Linked DNA regions of Homo sapiens: all the other regions are linked to region 1. The links are contacts of gene promoters, found by promoter capture Hi-C in blood cells and fetal thymus (Javierre and others, 2016). All regions are on one chromosome and are shown on one strand. The core of a region is centred on a gene start or on the middle of the fragment in contact, and the rest is flanking DNA. Distances in the headings are between cores, read along the strand shown.

The links. The method cuts DNA at HindIII sites, captures the fragments that hold promoters and counts their contacts. A CHiCAGO score of 5 or more calls a contact.
Region 2: a contact is called between a fragment that was not itself captured here and the fragment with the promoter of ZNFX1 in region 1, in 8 of 17 cell types (naive B cells, naive CD8 T cells, activated CD4 T cells and 5 more). The highest score is 8.4, in naive B cells.
Region 3: the fragment with the promoter of RNF114 here is called in contact with the fragment with the promoter of ZNFX1 in region 1 in 6 of 17 cell types (naive CD8 T cells, total CD8 T cells, naive CD4 T cells and 3 more); the score reaches 8.1 in naive CD8 T cells.
Region 4: a contact is called between a fragment that was not itself captured here and the fragment with the promoter of ZNFX1 in region 1, in 1 of 17 cell types (activated CD4 T cells). The highest score is 5.8, in activated CD4 T cells.

What each region holds. Positions count from the first base shown.
Region 1 is chr20:49,276,639-49,280,379 of GRCh38, reverse strand. ZNFX1 (zinc finger NFX1-type containing 1) reads left to right here and starts at 2,323. Exons shown (of 14, transcript NM_021035.3): 1 at 2,323-2,359. ZFAS1 (ZNFX1 antisense RNA 1) reads right to left here and starts at 2,202. Exons shown (of 4, transcript NR_036658.2): 1 at 1,664-2,202; 2 at 1,172-1,276. It overlaps SNORD12C (small nucleolar RNA, C/D box 12C), which reads right to left and starts at 1,435; the gene lies at 1,357-1,435. SNORD12B (small nucleolar RNA, C/D box 12B) reads right to left here and starts at 67; the gene lies at 1-67. RefSeq lists enhancers at 1,619-1,818, 1,694-1,988, 1,746-2,246, 2,247-2,747, 3,089-3,148 and silencers at 1,909-2,268, 2,319-2,548. The HindIII fragment of the contact is 6,236 bases long and covers 1,122-3,741 here.
Region 2 is chr20:49,911,954-49,915,791 of GRCh38, reverse strand. SPATA2 (spermatogenesis associated 2) reads left to right here and starts at 263. Exons shown (of 3, transcript NM_006038.4): 1 at 263-412. RefSeq lists enhancers at 222-281, 1,076-1,245 and a silencer at 312-561. The HindIII fragment of the contact is 2,077 bases long and covers 1,121-3,197 here.
Region 3 is chr20:49,934,168-49,937,852 of GRCh38, reverse strand. RNF114 (ring finger protein 114) reads right to left here and starts at 1,456. Exons shown (of 6, transcript NM_018683.4): 1 at 1,301-1,456. The coding sequence starts at 1,440. RefSeq lists silencers at 87-381, 667-961, 1,420-1,609, 2,176-2,255 and an enhancer at 1,202-1,807. The HindIII fragment of the contact is 14,536 bases long and covers 1-3,685 here.
Region 4 is chr20:49,819,034-49,822,712 of GRCh38, reverse strand. The region is part of intron 2 of SLC9A8 (solute carrier family 9 member A8); the gene reads right to left. Among named protein-coding and RNA genes, the nearest start is that of SLC9A8, 8.0 kb to the right of the region's middle. The HindIII fragment of the contact is 4,761 bases long and covers 1-3,640 here.

The sequences.
Region 1 (3,741 bases), core at 1,074-3,573:
AAAGTTAGATCAACATAGTCGATCTGTCGGGGAAAAAAGCTAAGTCATCATATATGCCAGCAGGAAGTTCTTGAGTGAGGAGTAAGATTTGAAAGCCATGAGGAGTAAGATTTGGTTGGTATGCTTCATATTTGCAAATTTGCATTCGGTGTTTGAGCACTTCTGTGTTGTATCCTGTAGCTGGCAATAACTTGGTAGCCAAACCAAACACCCCTGTCTTCAGTGCTTACACTCTGAGTACAGGCCCATGATAGAAGCCAGTGTGGCTGGAAGAGTTGAGGAAGTAGTTGGCATTTACTGAGTTGGGAAGTGAACAAGTACCAAGAGATTGCATTTTAACACAAGTTACCACAAGTTACCTGACAAAAGAACAATCTGGAACAATAAGCTTCACATGTGTTCCCATGAAGCCCAGACTTTGTAAACGCCTCACTCCTGGACTCTAGCAAAAATATTAGTTATGTAGTCGGGCACTGGTTTGAGTGGCTAGTTCAACAGAAAAACACATTTGGCTTTCCAAAATATGTCAATAAATCATCCCTCCACTTGGAAATTTAAGCGCCCCAACACACAGGAAGAATGGAATCCAAAAATATGTTTAAGTGGCATTAAAATGTTAAACGCCTCTTCACTAACAAGGTTCTTTCACTTCAGGCATTTCTCTTAAACCTGTTTCTTCACCAGAAACCTAGTTCCAATATTTGAACTGTGAGAATAAAACATTCAGAACATGTTTTTCTTTTTTTTTTTTTTTTGAGACGGAGTCTGGCTCTGTTGCCCCGACTGTAGGGCAGTGGCGCAATCTCAACTCACTACAACCTCCGCCGCCCGGGTTCGGGCAATTCTCCTGCCTCAGCCTTGTGAGTTGCTGGGATTACAGGCGCGTACCACCACGCCCAGCTAATTTCTGTATTTTTAATAGAGTCAGGGTTTCACCATGTTGGCCAGGCTGGTCTCCAAATCTTGACCTCAGGTGACCCATCTGCCTTGGCCTCCCCAAGTGCTGGGGTTACAGGCGTCAGCCACAGCGCCCGGCCGTCAGAACACTTTTTTAAATACCTAATAAATGCTCGATAGAAAGTGCTTTGTTAAATCCCACGTTTTCCTAGAAAACTAAAGCTTCTCAAAGCACGTGTTTTCTACAGTAGACCCATAGGAGACAAAGACTTACTCGTCAGGAGATCGAAGGTTGTAGATGTCTGCACGTGGCTTCCTTGGAGGTCCAGTGGTGACTCCCTCTTCCAAAATCCATTCTGTACCCGCTGGCTGCTCTAACCTGTGAACCAACAAATAAAGGGCGTTAACCGCCATCTTCCCACGGTCAGAAACGAACAAGGCCGGGCCTTTTGAGGCCGATGTATCAGAACTAACTGGCAAAATATAAGACGTCAGCATTGTCGATCTGATGGGGAAAAAAGTGAAGTCATCATTTACACCAGCCAAGGGCTTCTCAGGCCCGTGCAGAAGGCAGTGGCTTTTCCAGCTCCAGAAACTCATTTCTCCCACGCCCTTAAGGCCTATTTGGGGTCAGAGACGGAGAAGCCACGAGAAGGAGATTAGGGCTGGCCGCAGAGACGACGGCACAAAGAAGGGAAGGGAGGACCAGAGGTCTCCAACGAAGAACATGGAGTTTCCACTCACCACACACAAAACGGGAACTTACGGGCAGGACAATAGCGTATGAAGCCTGACTGCAACTAGGAGAAGTACCACACTCCGGGCACCGCAGACGCGAAAGAACGAATGGCTTCCTGAACCTCCCTTATATAACCAAAGATGGCTTTCGCACCTGCGCACTGGACCCGAAACGCTCTCTTTCCCGCCCGCTCCGCGCGCGTCGCTCTGGGAAATGTAGTCTCGAGCAGCACAGCCCGAGGCGCTCTAGTAGTTGTCCAGGCCGCGTCTAGCCCCGCCCCCTTCCCTCTACACGCCGGGCCACCCGGGCTTGTCCGCTTCCTCGCCATGTCGCGCTTCACACGCACCAAACCGCTCGACGGGTTCCCCTTCCTCTGGGGCCGGCTGAGGCCCGCAAAGGCCTTGGGCGCAGTCATCTCCCGCCCCCCGCGGTCCGCTCCCCTCAGCCGCGCCCGCCTGAGCCCGCCGGCTCCGCCGCCGGGGGGAGCTGAGGTGACGCCCTCCTCGAGGGCGGAGGCGCCGGCCGTGCCTGGGCCAGGCCCTCGTGCTCTCCACCCTGGGCCCCCGCCTCCTCCTTCTCCTCCTCTGGGCCGCCCGCCCGGCTCCGCCCAGGGTCTGCGGGGAACGGAAACCGAAAGTGCGCGGCGCCGGGCGGGGCCACCGACCTGCCTGGGCCGAAGCCCCAGCACTCGCCGGCGGCAGTGAAAGGACGCGCCGGAGCCGGGTGAGTGGCCCCGCAACTGCCCCTGCCCCTGATTCTTCCTTGCCTCGCCGCGAACCCCGGCGCCCGCGCCGACCCGCCACTGCCTCTGCCCGTAAGACCTGTCACCCTCTCAAGCCCCCAACGCACCCGTCACCCGCTCAGAGCCCCTGGCCCCTCAGCGCCCCGTCGCCCCCTCAATCCCCAGACCCCCATCACCCACTCAGAGCCTTGTCACCTCTTTGGCCCCCAGCGGCATCAGCACCCACTCAGAGCGCCTCTCAGCGCCCCGTCTCCCCCTCAGACCCCAGACCTCCATCGCCTACTCAGCGCCCCGTCACCCACTCAGCCCCTGGCCCATCTCAGCGCCCCGTCGCCCCTTCGGCTCCCCTGTACTCTCTTTAGTGTCCCCATCCCCTCAGCTGGCCCGTCGCTCTCCCCAGCACCCCCGACACCGTCACCGCTTCTGCCCTCAGCACTTCGATCTCCTCTGCCCCTACCCCTGTCTGTGCCCTCCCTTCTGCCACTCGCACCCCCCTCATTCCTCCGGCCTCACCTCCTGTCACCTTATCAATCCCCCTCTTCTACAGAGCACCTCGGCACCCCCTTCAGCCTGCTCCCTGCCCCCACCCCGCCGCCTCCGTCCTCAGCAAGCACCCCCTGGTGCTCGCTACCACCCTCTCCCCAAGGCCCCCATAACCCCGCCACCTCACAGCCTTGGCGCTCCCTGACCCCATAACATTTCCATTAGGGACCGTGGGCTCCCTGGGTCAGGGATTCCCCAGGACCCTGGAGACTTCCCCCAAACCCAGCTCTGCCTCCGACCTCAGCCTCCTGCGTCCCACTCTGGTGATGACTAGCCCCTCTCATTCTGACTCCAGGCCAGCTTGATCATCACTGATTTTCTTCTTCGTGCCCTTTAGGCCTTGATTCCCCCCACCAAAAAAAAACACTTCAGTCTGTTTTCGATCCCAGCATTTCCTGTTCATGTCTACTCCTCCCTTCCTTCCCTTGCCTTTTTTTTAACATCTTTTTTTCTTTTCTTCCGTTTCTTTTAAATTTTCTGGAGTTTCTATTTTAGCATTTTTCAACAAGGGGAAGAAGGAATTTTCCCCTCGGAGAATTGAAAATAAACAAACAAACTCTAAATACTGAGCCTGCGCCAGGAGGGCTGGGTTTGATAAGATGAGGGAGGGGACTCACCAGAGATATTCCCAGGGGGAAGAAAAGAGACTCCTTTTTCAGATGAGGAAAAAAGCTGCCCCTCATATAATGCCAAATGTAGTCACAGTTTCCAATTATGAATATTTTAGAACTCAGTGAAGACAGTCTCAAAAATCCCTTTGCTGAGGACTCTGAGTCACCCACTCTTTCCTTAGCCCCAGCCCACACCATGTGTATGAGTT
Region 2 (3,838 bases), core at 910-3,409, 640 kb before region 1:
CCATCCCTAGGCCGAGCGGCTTGCGTCACGTCCGGCCTGTTTACTTCCGGGTCCCAGTCTCAGACGCAGCGATGGCTCGTTAGGCTCCAAAGTGCGGTTCCGCCGGTTTCGTCCTCGCTCTTCGGCCTTCCGCTTTGTCCTCCGCCTCTGGGTTGTAGTCTCCGTCGGCCGCGGGCATCGACCGCTTCCCGGAGCCAGCGCGCAGCCGTGGTCCACCCTCTCTTCGGGCCCGCCTCATGGTGACATCATTTCCGGGCCGAGTGTTTCCGGGTCGCTGCTGGCCCCCGGGTACTGGTCTCAGTACCCCTGCAGCCGGCCGGAGAGGCTAGAGCCCGACGGGGCCCGGCTCCGGCGGCAGCCGCGCCTCTCGCTTGCTTCCCTCGGCCGGGCCGTCCTCGGCGGCAGTGTCAGGGTGAGTGACGGGCGGCCGCGGGCGGAAACTGCCTTCGGGGCTTCCCCAGGCGGAGGGGGCGCCAGACAGCGGCAGGGCTCGGCTGGCCCGGGAGCGGGGTACCCTCACGGCAGGCAGGACTACAGGTGGGCCCGCTGTTTCGGCGCTCCCGGGACCCCCAGCCTATCCTCAGGACCCCCATTCTCCCGGGAGCTGCCTCGCAGGCTCCTGGGACCCGCCGAGGGTGGCTCAGGGCCGCCCAAGAGGAACACCCCTCTTCGGCGACTGGCCAAACAGAAGGACACCCCGATTTCGCCACGAGGCAGTTACCGCGCAGGGGTTCCCAGTTCAGGCTCTGGCGGCACACCTGGGTTTGTACTCACTGTGTGACCTTGGATAAGTCACTTCATCTTAAGAGCCTCAGTTGCCTATTTAAGTGATTGAACCTGGTTGCTAGGGCTGGAGTGGAGATGGAATGAGATCATGCAGGGCCTCTGGCATACAGCAGGCGTCCAATAAGTGATAGTTCCTGTTACTTCATTCAATTCACGAAGCCGTAGGGGGGGCCAGAATTTGAGACTGGGCTGTTTTTCACAACTGACGTGGCCCCCCGAGGCTGTAGGAATGACCGAGCTGGGACTTAGCAGCCGCCAGCTTCTGTCCCCTGCAGGGAGGGAAACAGCTTCCTTCAGAGCTTCTCCGAGAGAGGCAGCTGCCACTAGGGAAGCTTCTTTCAGCACCGCTGAGGTTATTTTCAGAGGTTTGGAAGGACTCTGTGTGAATTTCTTTGGAATCTAGTAGGAGTGTGGGGACCTTCTGGTGTTTCACAGCCAGTGGAAGGTGCCTTGGATGTTTCTCGGAGCCTCTTGCTTGGAACGAGTGCATTGGTGTGGGTGGGGAGGTGGAGGGGGTTGAACTGACTTCCCCGTCTCCTGTTTGGAGGCTGATGGAGCTAGACCAGGGATGTGTAAACCTGTGGACAGGGGCAGTGCACAGACCAAAATAGGTCTGCCTGTGCAGAGAGGGGGCGCCTTCAAATGCTGCTTGGGGAACATTTCTGCTTGAATGGGCCAGCTGAGGTAAAGCCAAGCTAATGCTTAGCTACTCGGAATCACTTCACTTCCATGCAGTGGGACTCTAAACAGATACAGCTTTCCTCTTAGATGTTCAAAAAATAACTAAAGAAGCCACTGGCTCCCTGACTGTGCAATATCTCTTTTTCCATTGACTTGCTTTTCAAGAAGGTACCTAGATTGTGGGTGCAGGAGGTGCTGACTGGAGCCGTTGACTCTGGGCACCTGCCTGTCTCTGTGTTCAGGATATTCACAGTGCTGTTTTTTTGTTTTTTGGGTTTTTTTTTTTTTTTTTTTCCACCAGACTGGCACGGCTTGGCGTTCCAATCCTTGGGTTGCTTGGAGAAATTAGCAGCTTCTGTCGCTGGGCTGTCTCGGTCTCCTGTAACCACGATGTTTTTGCAGAGAGCGTATTTTGTTGTTCTTGCAGAGTGCTGGGAATGAATTGCTGGCTCTGTGCTCAGAAAAAACACCAGCTATGACCAGCTACAAGGCATCTTGTATTCTCAGAAAATGTTTTCAGCAGGGATGATGTCAGCTGCTTCATCACTGGCCGATGTCTCTGACCAGCCTCTTTCCTTGGCCCTTGAGCTTACATCATATAGAGATTAGCTCTCCTAGCCCCATTCGGTGTGGGAAGATGGGAATTTTGCTACTACAGGAATTTTTGTAACTCAACTCTGCTCGCGCCGCCATAAGGCATTCTAACTTAGCCAAACACTTTCGAGTAGAGCTGTCCAGCAGATGCAGCAGGATGGCTTTGCAAGAGTCGGAGTTTTGGCGTTAGACCTAGGTTCAGAGCTCAGATCCACTTCTTCCTAGCCTTACGACTTAGGGTAAGTGAGTTGGCCTCTCCGAGCCTCAGTTTCCTCTTTAACCTTGGATCTATCCTGTGGATTTCATTGGTTTTCACAGAGCAGTTAGCAGAGGGATGCCACACAGTAATCCCTTGGTAAATGGTACTGATGTAACAATAAATGAGTGAGGTAAATTGGAGAAAGCCCAGGCATCAAGGGCCTCCCAGCAAGAGTTCAGATTCCAGCTCTGACCCTTTCAAACTCTGTTGGGCAGGTTGTTTTAATGGGAAGAGCCTGTTTTCCTTATAGAGTTGTGAGGATTAAATGGGATGATGTAGGTAAAGTGGGAAGCCCAATGCTTAGCACATAGTAGAACCTCAGTAATTGTTAGTCTCTTTCTTTCCTTTCCTTATTGACTGATTGAGACAAGGTCTTGCTCTGTCACCCAGGCCGGAGTGCAGTGGTGCCATCATAGCTCACTGCAGCCTCAAACTCCTGGGCTCAGTGGATCCCCCCACCTCAGACTCCCAAGTAGCTAAGACTACAGGTGGGTGTCACCACACCCACCTAATTTTTTTTTTTTTTTTTTTTGTAGAGACGGAGTCTAACTATGTTGTCCAGGCTTGTCTTGCCCTTAATTATCTTTTAGCTTTTACTTTCTTCCGCCTTTTCCCTCACCTACCCAGGTTGGTTTGAGATTTGTTTTAGATAGGCTTCCTGTCCTTATTGTGAGTATTTTGAACATCAGCTGGGCTGTTTGGATCCCTTTCCTTTATTTATTGTTTTTCAGCAACAAACAAGGGTGTGGACTGTGGTGCGATTATAGAGCAGCAGACGCTGAGCCGAGCTTGAGACTGGCTGACTTTGTAAAAAATCAGTCTCTTTGAGTTCAAGGCTGACTTCCTTGGAGAAAAATTACAGCAGTATTCGGAAGCTTAATGTCTCTGTGTTTGAATGGTTCTCAGACTACCAAAAAACAGACCCTGGGGCCAGAGGCGTGATGGCAGCTTCTCTTAGATAAGTCAAGAATGGTAAATGCATGTGTGACTATCCTCTCCAGTGGTGCAATACATTTATTTATGTAGAGATGGAGTTTTTGCTCTGTTGCCCAGGCTGGAGTGCAATGGCACGATCTCAGCTCACTGCAACCTCTCCCTCCTGGGTTCACGCCATTCTCCTGCCTCAGCCTCCTGAGTAGCTGGGATTACAGGTGTTCGTCCAGCTAATTTTTGTATTTTTAGTAGAGGCGGGGTTTCGCTATGTTGGCCAGGCTAGTCTCAAACTCCCAATCTCAGGCGATCCACCCACCTTGGCCTCCCAGAGTTGTAGGATTACAGGCGTGAGCCACCGCGCCTGGCCTGCATTTTTATTTTTTAAGAGAATATACATTTTAAATTGTTTATTTTTTTATGGACAGAACAGTATGAAGTTAGAGCACATACCTACTTTGATACTAGGTGGTATGCTCTTCCAGCTAGAGCTGCAGGCAGGATGTGTCTCCTTTATTGCTGTCCTCTACCTGTCCCACCCATCCCCATTCCCCGACTGGGTCCAGCTCAGGCAGAGGGTGGGGGCTG
Region 3 (3,685 bases), core at 207-2,706, 660 kb before region 1:
ATGGCCACTCCGTCATGAGCTGTTAAGTTTTGCTCTGTGCAAGCAAGGAGAAGGAAGTTAAGTCCCAGAAAGGAAGTGGGGGAAGTAATTTAGATGGGGATGGTATTTGGTGAGGTAACTTAACCTGGGACTTGAAGCCTGAAAAGGGAGGGGTGGGGGGAAGAGTTCCAGGCTAACCGAATTGCAAAGATGAATAGCCTAAAGCAACATGATGAAGCAAAAAGCAGCCAGCTAGGTGCCAAGCACTGTTCTCTGGACTACTGAAATGGTCACCTGCAGTACATCTGGGAAGAGCTAGGCCACGGTGACCCTTCCCTAAGAGAGCCTCGGACCCTCAGTGTATTCACCTGTAAAATGGCTGCCAACCCTCCCCCGCTGCAGGGTGGCTATAGAATAATGCCCATGGAGTGCAATGGCTACTGTGCCCGCTGCCAAGACCAATGCCAAGGTGATCCCACGATAAGCACTGAGAGGGGCCAGAGGAAAAGCCAATTCTGAGGCAAGAAGCAGGTGGCCACGTTGTCTACAATTCTTTCAACTCAGATGTGTTTGTGCGTCTGATGGAACAAGGCTTAGATTCAAATCGACCAACCTGACCAACCTCGAAAGCCCCGGCCACAGCCCAGGACCTGGACTGGACATTTATACACATATCTGCTTTAATCATTATAACCACTCTATTCACAATATTCAGGTCATGAAGGCTTAATTGAAAACTGAAAGAAACAAACCTCCTACACAGGAAGTAGAATGCTAACAATCCCATCTGCCAACTCCCACCCCCCTTTCACAGCTAAGGGCAAACTGGCCAGATCCCCATAAAGACTTCCCTTTTGTTGTTTTAGTCTAGTTCAGCGTTTCTCCCGACTTTAGTGCACAGTAGAATAACTCGCCACAGCTAGACACGACGCCAAATGTCCTATGCTTTAAGAGCGACGTGGACTAGAAAGGAAACGTCGGCTCTCCAAGGGCGGACTTCGGAGCCTAAAGTCCCCGCAGGGCACGAGTCCACTATCACGTGTGGGAAGGAGACTGACAGGCCGCCTGGAACATCGCAGGCGCTCAACAGACAGCAGCTGCCCCGCTAAGACGGGCGGAGGAACGGGATACTTAGGAGTGAGCGGGGCGGGACAGAAGAGCGCCCCGGCAGCTTTCACGGCCCTTAGGAGCCCCGGGGGACACCCCCGGGAGGCCCCTCTGGGTGGGTCCTCTGGCTCCCGCCCTGAGACCCATCTCGCTCCTCGGCTCCATTCCCTTCCCAGTTAAGCGCCCCCCGACCAGGCCCGGGCTCGCCGCTTACACGTGTCCGCAGGGCACCTGTACCGGCTTCTCGTACACCTCTAAGCACACGGGACACGTGAAGCGTCCTAGGGGGTCAGCCTCCGCCGCCGGCCCCGCCAGCTGCGCAGCACCCCCGCAGTCCCGCTGTTGCGCCGCCATCTTGCTGCCGCTCTGCGCCGCGCAACGGCGGCCGATGAGGAGGAGGCCGAGGGGGCGGGGCTCGCGGGGCGGTGAGCGGTTGGGGGCGGGGCTAGCGGGTGGGCCGCCCCTCGGGGCCCCTCTGACGCAAGCGAGCTAGAGGCCGAGGGAAATCTGGAAAACGTGGAAGCCAAATCCAAAGGCTGCCAGAATTGGGACGGGCTCTGCGCGTGGGCCGCTGTTTTCCAAATTTATCGTTAGTTCGGCACCACTTGCACTATCACTATTTATCTTCGAATCAAGTTGCTTTTTCCTTAAATTTATTTATTTATTTATTTAATCTATTTTGGGACAAGGTCTTGCTTTGTCGCCCAGGCTGGTGTTCAGTGGCGCGCGCGATCATGGCTCCCTGCAGCCTCGACCACCGGGGTTCAAGCGATCCTCCCACCTCAGCCTCCTGCGTAGCTGGACCACAGGCAGTCACCACCATGCCGGACTAATTTATTTATTTTTGTATTTTTTGTAGAGACGGGGAAAGGAGGGGGGGAAGGAGTGGTGCAGAGAGCGGGCGGGTCTCACTGTGTTGCCGAGGCTGGCCTCGAACTCTTGGACGCAAGCAATCCGCCTGCCTCGGCAACCCGAAGTGCTGGGATTACAGCGGTGAGCCACAGTACCCAGCCATTTCTTAAATTTAAGCAAATTCTAATAACAGATCTAATTCCTGAGCTGCAAGAAGAAAATCAATATCATTTATTTATACAAAGGAGCTGGGCAAGGTGGCTTACTTCTGTAATCTCAGCACTTTGGGAGGCCGAGGTGGGCGGATCGCTTGAGCCTAGGAGTACTAGAGCAGCCTGGCCAACATGGTGAAACCCCGTCTCTACTAACAATACTAAAATTAGCCAGGCGTGGTTGCCCATGCCTGTAGCCTCAGCTACTCAGGACGCTGAGGCAGGAAAAGCCTTTGACCTGGGAGGCGAAGGTTGCCGTGGGCCAAGATGGCTCACTCACTCCAACAGTCACTAAACTCCAGCCTGGGCAACAAGAACGAAACTCCGTCTGAAAAAAAAAAAAAAAAACAAAAACACAACCTGGCTAACACGGTGAAACCCTGTCTCTACTAAAAATACAAAAAATTAGCCGGGCGTGGTGGCGGGCGCCTGTAGTCCCAGCTACTCGGGAGGCTGAGGCAGGAGAATGGCTTGAACCTGGGAGGCGGAGCTTGCAGTGAGCCAAGATCTTGCCACTGCACTCCAGTCTGGGCGACAGCGCGAGACTCCCTCTCAAAAAACAACAACAACAACAACAAAACAAAACAAAAAAACCCCAACAACAAAGTACATTCATTTCATATTGTGCAATCATCACCATCAGCTATCTCTAAAATTCTGGTCTTCTTGCTAAACTGAAACTGAAATTCTGTCCCCATTAAACAATAACTTCCTCTTCCCTCCTCCCATCCCCATACCCCCAGGCCCTGGCAATTTTCTGTCTATGATTTTGAAGCACTTATAGCTATAAAATTTCCCCTGAGCACTGCTTTCACTGTGTCCAGTAAATTTTGGCATGCTGTGTTTTTGTTTTCATTTGTTTCTCAATATTTTCTCTATTTATTTAATTAATTTATTTATTTTGAGATGGAGTCTCACTCTGTCGCCCAGGCTGGAGTGCATTGGTGCAATCTCTGCTCGCTGCAGCCTCCCTCTCCTGGATTCAAGCAATTCCCTTGCCTCAGCCTCCCAAGTAGCTGGGATTACAGGTGCCTGCCACCACGCCTGGCTAATTTTTGTATTTTTAGTAGAGACAGGGTTTCACAATGTTGGCCAGGCTGGTCTCAAACGCCTGACCTCAAGTGATCCGCCAACCTCGGCCTCCCAAAATGCTGGGATTACAGGTGTGAGCCACCCAGCCTGGCCTGTTTCTGAGTATTTTCTAATTTCCCTTGTGATTTCTTCTTTGATCCATTGGTTCTTTTAAGAGTGTGTAAATTTCCACAAATTTGTGAATTTTCCAGTTTTCCTTTGATATTGATTTCTTTTTTTTTTTAACCCCCCCATATTGATTTCTAGCCTTATCCAATTGTGCTTGGAGAAGATATTTGGTATGATCTCTTTTATTTCTTCTTTCTTTCCTTCTTATCTTTCTCTCTTTCTCCTTTTCTTCTGTCTCTTTTTGTAGAGATGAAGTCTGGCTGTGTTGCCCAGGCTGGTTGCAAACTCCTGGGCACGAGCAATCCTCCTGCCTCAGCCTCCCAAAGTGCTGGGAT
Region 4 (3,679 bases), core at 11-2,510, 540 kb before region 1:
CAGGCTCAGGTGATTCTCCCATCTCAGCCTCCCAAGTAGCTGGGACTAGAGACACATGACACCACACCCAACTAATTTTTTTGTATTTTTAGTAGAGATGGGGTTTCGCCACATTGCACAGGCTGGTCTCCAACTCTTGGGCTCAAGCAATCCACTCACCTTGGCCTCCCAAAGTGCTGGGATTACAGGCGTGAGCCACGGTGATCAGCCAGAAACCTATTTTTTTATATAAGCTGTTAAACCTTATAAAATTATTTAAAATTATTCAAATTTTTCTGATTCTGAGAAATGGTCTTCAACTTTTTGGAAGTGATTATCAACTGGAACACTATATGGTGAAGAGGAAGTCAATGAAATCAATCACTTTTACATAAATGTAACTGCAACAGATTGCATTGACACAAATTATTTTGCCATCATGTGACTGGCTCTTAACATAGAGGGAAGTAAGGGTTTTACAAACAGGAAAAAGTAAATGGTTTGGTGACAAGAACATCAGAGATCTGAATATGGAACACTCCTGCTCCCCAGCTGGGTGCAGCTGTGTCCTGCCATTCCCATCGGCTGAGGACTTCCCATGAGCCATGAACTAGGCTGAACACCCCAAATACTCTCTCATTTAATCCTCCAACTTCCCTCGGAATTAGCTGTCATTACCACTATCTTCTCTGATTACAAATCAGAAAACTGAGGCTTCTAGACATCACAGCCCCTGTCACACCACTGGTAGGTGCTGCAGTATTGAGTCAGATTCCAAATCTGTGCTCTTAACCACAGCATACCCCACCACCTCCCACTTGGCTGGATGCCTTCATTCCTCAATCTCCAAAACAGAATAATGTCTAACTTTCCTCACAGAGGTGTTGTTATGAAAGAAAATAAGAAGATGTAAAATAAAACGATTTGAAAGGGATATTTCTGCCCCCACCAACCCCCCGGCAAAAAAAATGGGTACTTCACAAAAATTATTCCTGAATGTAATTTCCTAATCCAAATGTTAGCGTGCATGTCTTTCTTTTACTGGGCACCTAGATGGTATACCAGCTCATCAACCACAGTATTAACAGGACTAACATTAATTTTGTTATTTTTTTCAAGGAAATGTTTAAACAATCCACATGCCTGTTAACTGGTCACCCTCAGAGGCTGCACTGACAAATTAGGTTTCTTTAATCCCACCAAAAAACACCAGGTGGCCAGAGTGTTGTAAATGTAGACATTTTGTCCTCTTTTCATTCTGTGCTTTAAACTATCAATCTGTGGTGTTATTTTTATATAAATATTTAACCTAGTTAGAAATCCTACATTAAATACTAATGGCAAGAAAAAAGTTCCAGTGCATAAACATAACATGTGACTAATGAACATGCCCAATGTCTAGACAAAACAAAAAACGGCAAATAAGCACATAAGTGGACAGAAAATAGACCAAGAGAGTTGAACCAGTTTCTGCTCTTCCTTTGTACCAAGCTAGATTTTTAAAAATTTAAGTTATTCTCATAAATAGATCAAACAACTCTTTGCGGCTTTAAGAGCAAAAGGGGAAACTATTAACAGAAAGAGTTAATATAAGGCTCATCAATGCCAGGTAACAGCCTTCAGCCATTAAAAAGAATAAAGTCAGAAAAGACAATCCATAGAAGGGGAGAAAATATTTGCAAATCATATATCTGATAAAGGTGTACTATCCACAATATATAAAGAACTCTTAAACTCAACAGCCAAGAGACAAACACCACAGCTTTTAAACGGGCATAGGACATGAATAGACAAAAGATGTTCAACATCAATAGTCACAAGGGAAACTAAAATCAAAATACAATGATTCACTGGAAGGACATGTAAGATTTTTTAAAAAATACAGTGAGGGCCTGGTGCGGTGGCTCACACCTGGAATCCCAGCACTTTGGGAGGCTGAGGCAAGCAGATCACCTGAGGTCGGAGTTCAAGACCAGCCTGGCCAACATGGTGAAACGCCGTCTCTACTAAAAATACAAAAATTAGCAGGGTGTGGTGGTGCGCACCTGAATCCCAGCTATATGGGAGGCTGAGACAGGAGAATCACTTGAACCCAGGAGGTAGAGGTTGCAGTGAGCCAAGATCATGCCACTGCACTCTAGCCTGGGAGACAGAGCAAGATTCCATCTCAAAAAAAACAAAACAAAACAAAAATACAATTTCATATCCACTAGGATAGCTATAATTTTTTTTTTCCCCGAGACAGAGTCTCACTCTGTCACCCAGGCTGGAGTGCAGTGGTGCAATCTCAGCTCACTGAAACCTCCACCTCCCAGGTTCAAATGATTCTAGTGCCTCAGCCTCCCGAATAGCTGGGATTATAGGTGTATGCCACCACGCCCACACCCAGCTAATTTTTTTGTATTTTTAGGAGAGACAGGGTTTCGCCATATTGCCAGGCTGGTCTCGAACTCCTGGCCTCAAGTGATCTTCCCGCCTCAGCCTCCCAAAGTGCTGAGATTGCAGGTATGAGCCACCACGCCCAGTCTATCATTTTTTTAAAACCAGAAAACAAGTGTTCGCAAGAACATGGAGAAACCGGAACCCTTGTAAAATGGTGCAGCCCCTGTGGAAAACATTTGTCAGTTTCTGAGAAAGTTAAACATACAGTAACCGTTTGACTCGGCAATTCCACTTGCAGGTATATATCCAAAAGAAATAAAAACATTTATCCACACAAAAGCCTATACACAAATGTTCACAGCAGCAGTATTCACAACAGCCAAAAGGTAGAAACAATCCAAATGTTCACTGATGAATGAATAAACATCATGTGGCATATCCATACAGTGGAATATTACTCAGCCATAAAAAGGAATGCAATTCTAACATATGCTATAACATGAATCTTGAGAACATTATGCTAAGTAATAGAAACCAGACACAAAAGGCCACGTATTATATGGTTTCATTTATATGAAATATTCTAAATAGGCAAATTCCTAGAGACAGAAAGCAGAATAGTGGTTGCCAAGGACTAGAAAAGGGAGGGATGGGGAATGACTGCTTTTAATGGTTTTCTTTTGGGGTGATGAAAATGTTCTGAAACTAGATAGTAGTGATAGCTGCACAACATTGTGAATGTACTAGATGCTGCTGAACTGTACATTTTAAAGTGGTTAAAATTGTAAATGTATGTTATGTATTTACTACAAAAAAAAAAGAATGAGGTAGACAGAAAAAACACCAATACAATGATCTCCAAGACATTCTGTGAGATGAAAAGGCAAGTTATGGGACCCCATTTATGTCAAAACAAATTTGCAACTCCAAACATGTATTATTTGTGTTTCTGCATGTACTTACGAATATACATCTGTATATGCAAAAACAAGCACGTTTTCAAGTACACTTGGAAAAAAACCGAGCAAGAAAGGGCAAACACTTCTGTGTGGTATGGAGGGTGTGCTTTCAATTTTTCATGCCTGGAGTAATGACTATGGAAAATATATAAAACACATATCAATCATAATAACTCCATTAAGTTTCAAGGCCCATAAAATGTATGTGTCAAATAATGTTAATTGTTAATCTAGTGTAAGTAAATAACAATGATTCCCCATTTTTTCTTGTGGAGTCAAAGATCAACAACGGTTAAATGCAAGTCAACTGATTTCAAGCTTCTAAAAATCAAAAGTAACTACAGAGTTTTGTCATCCCT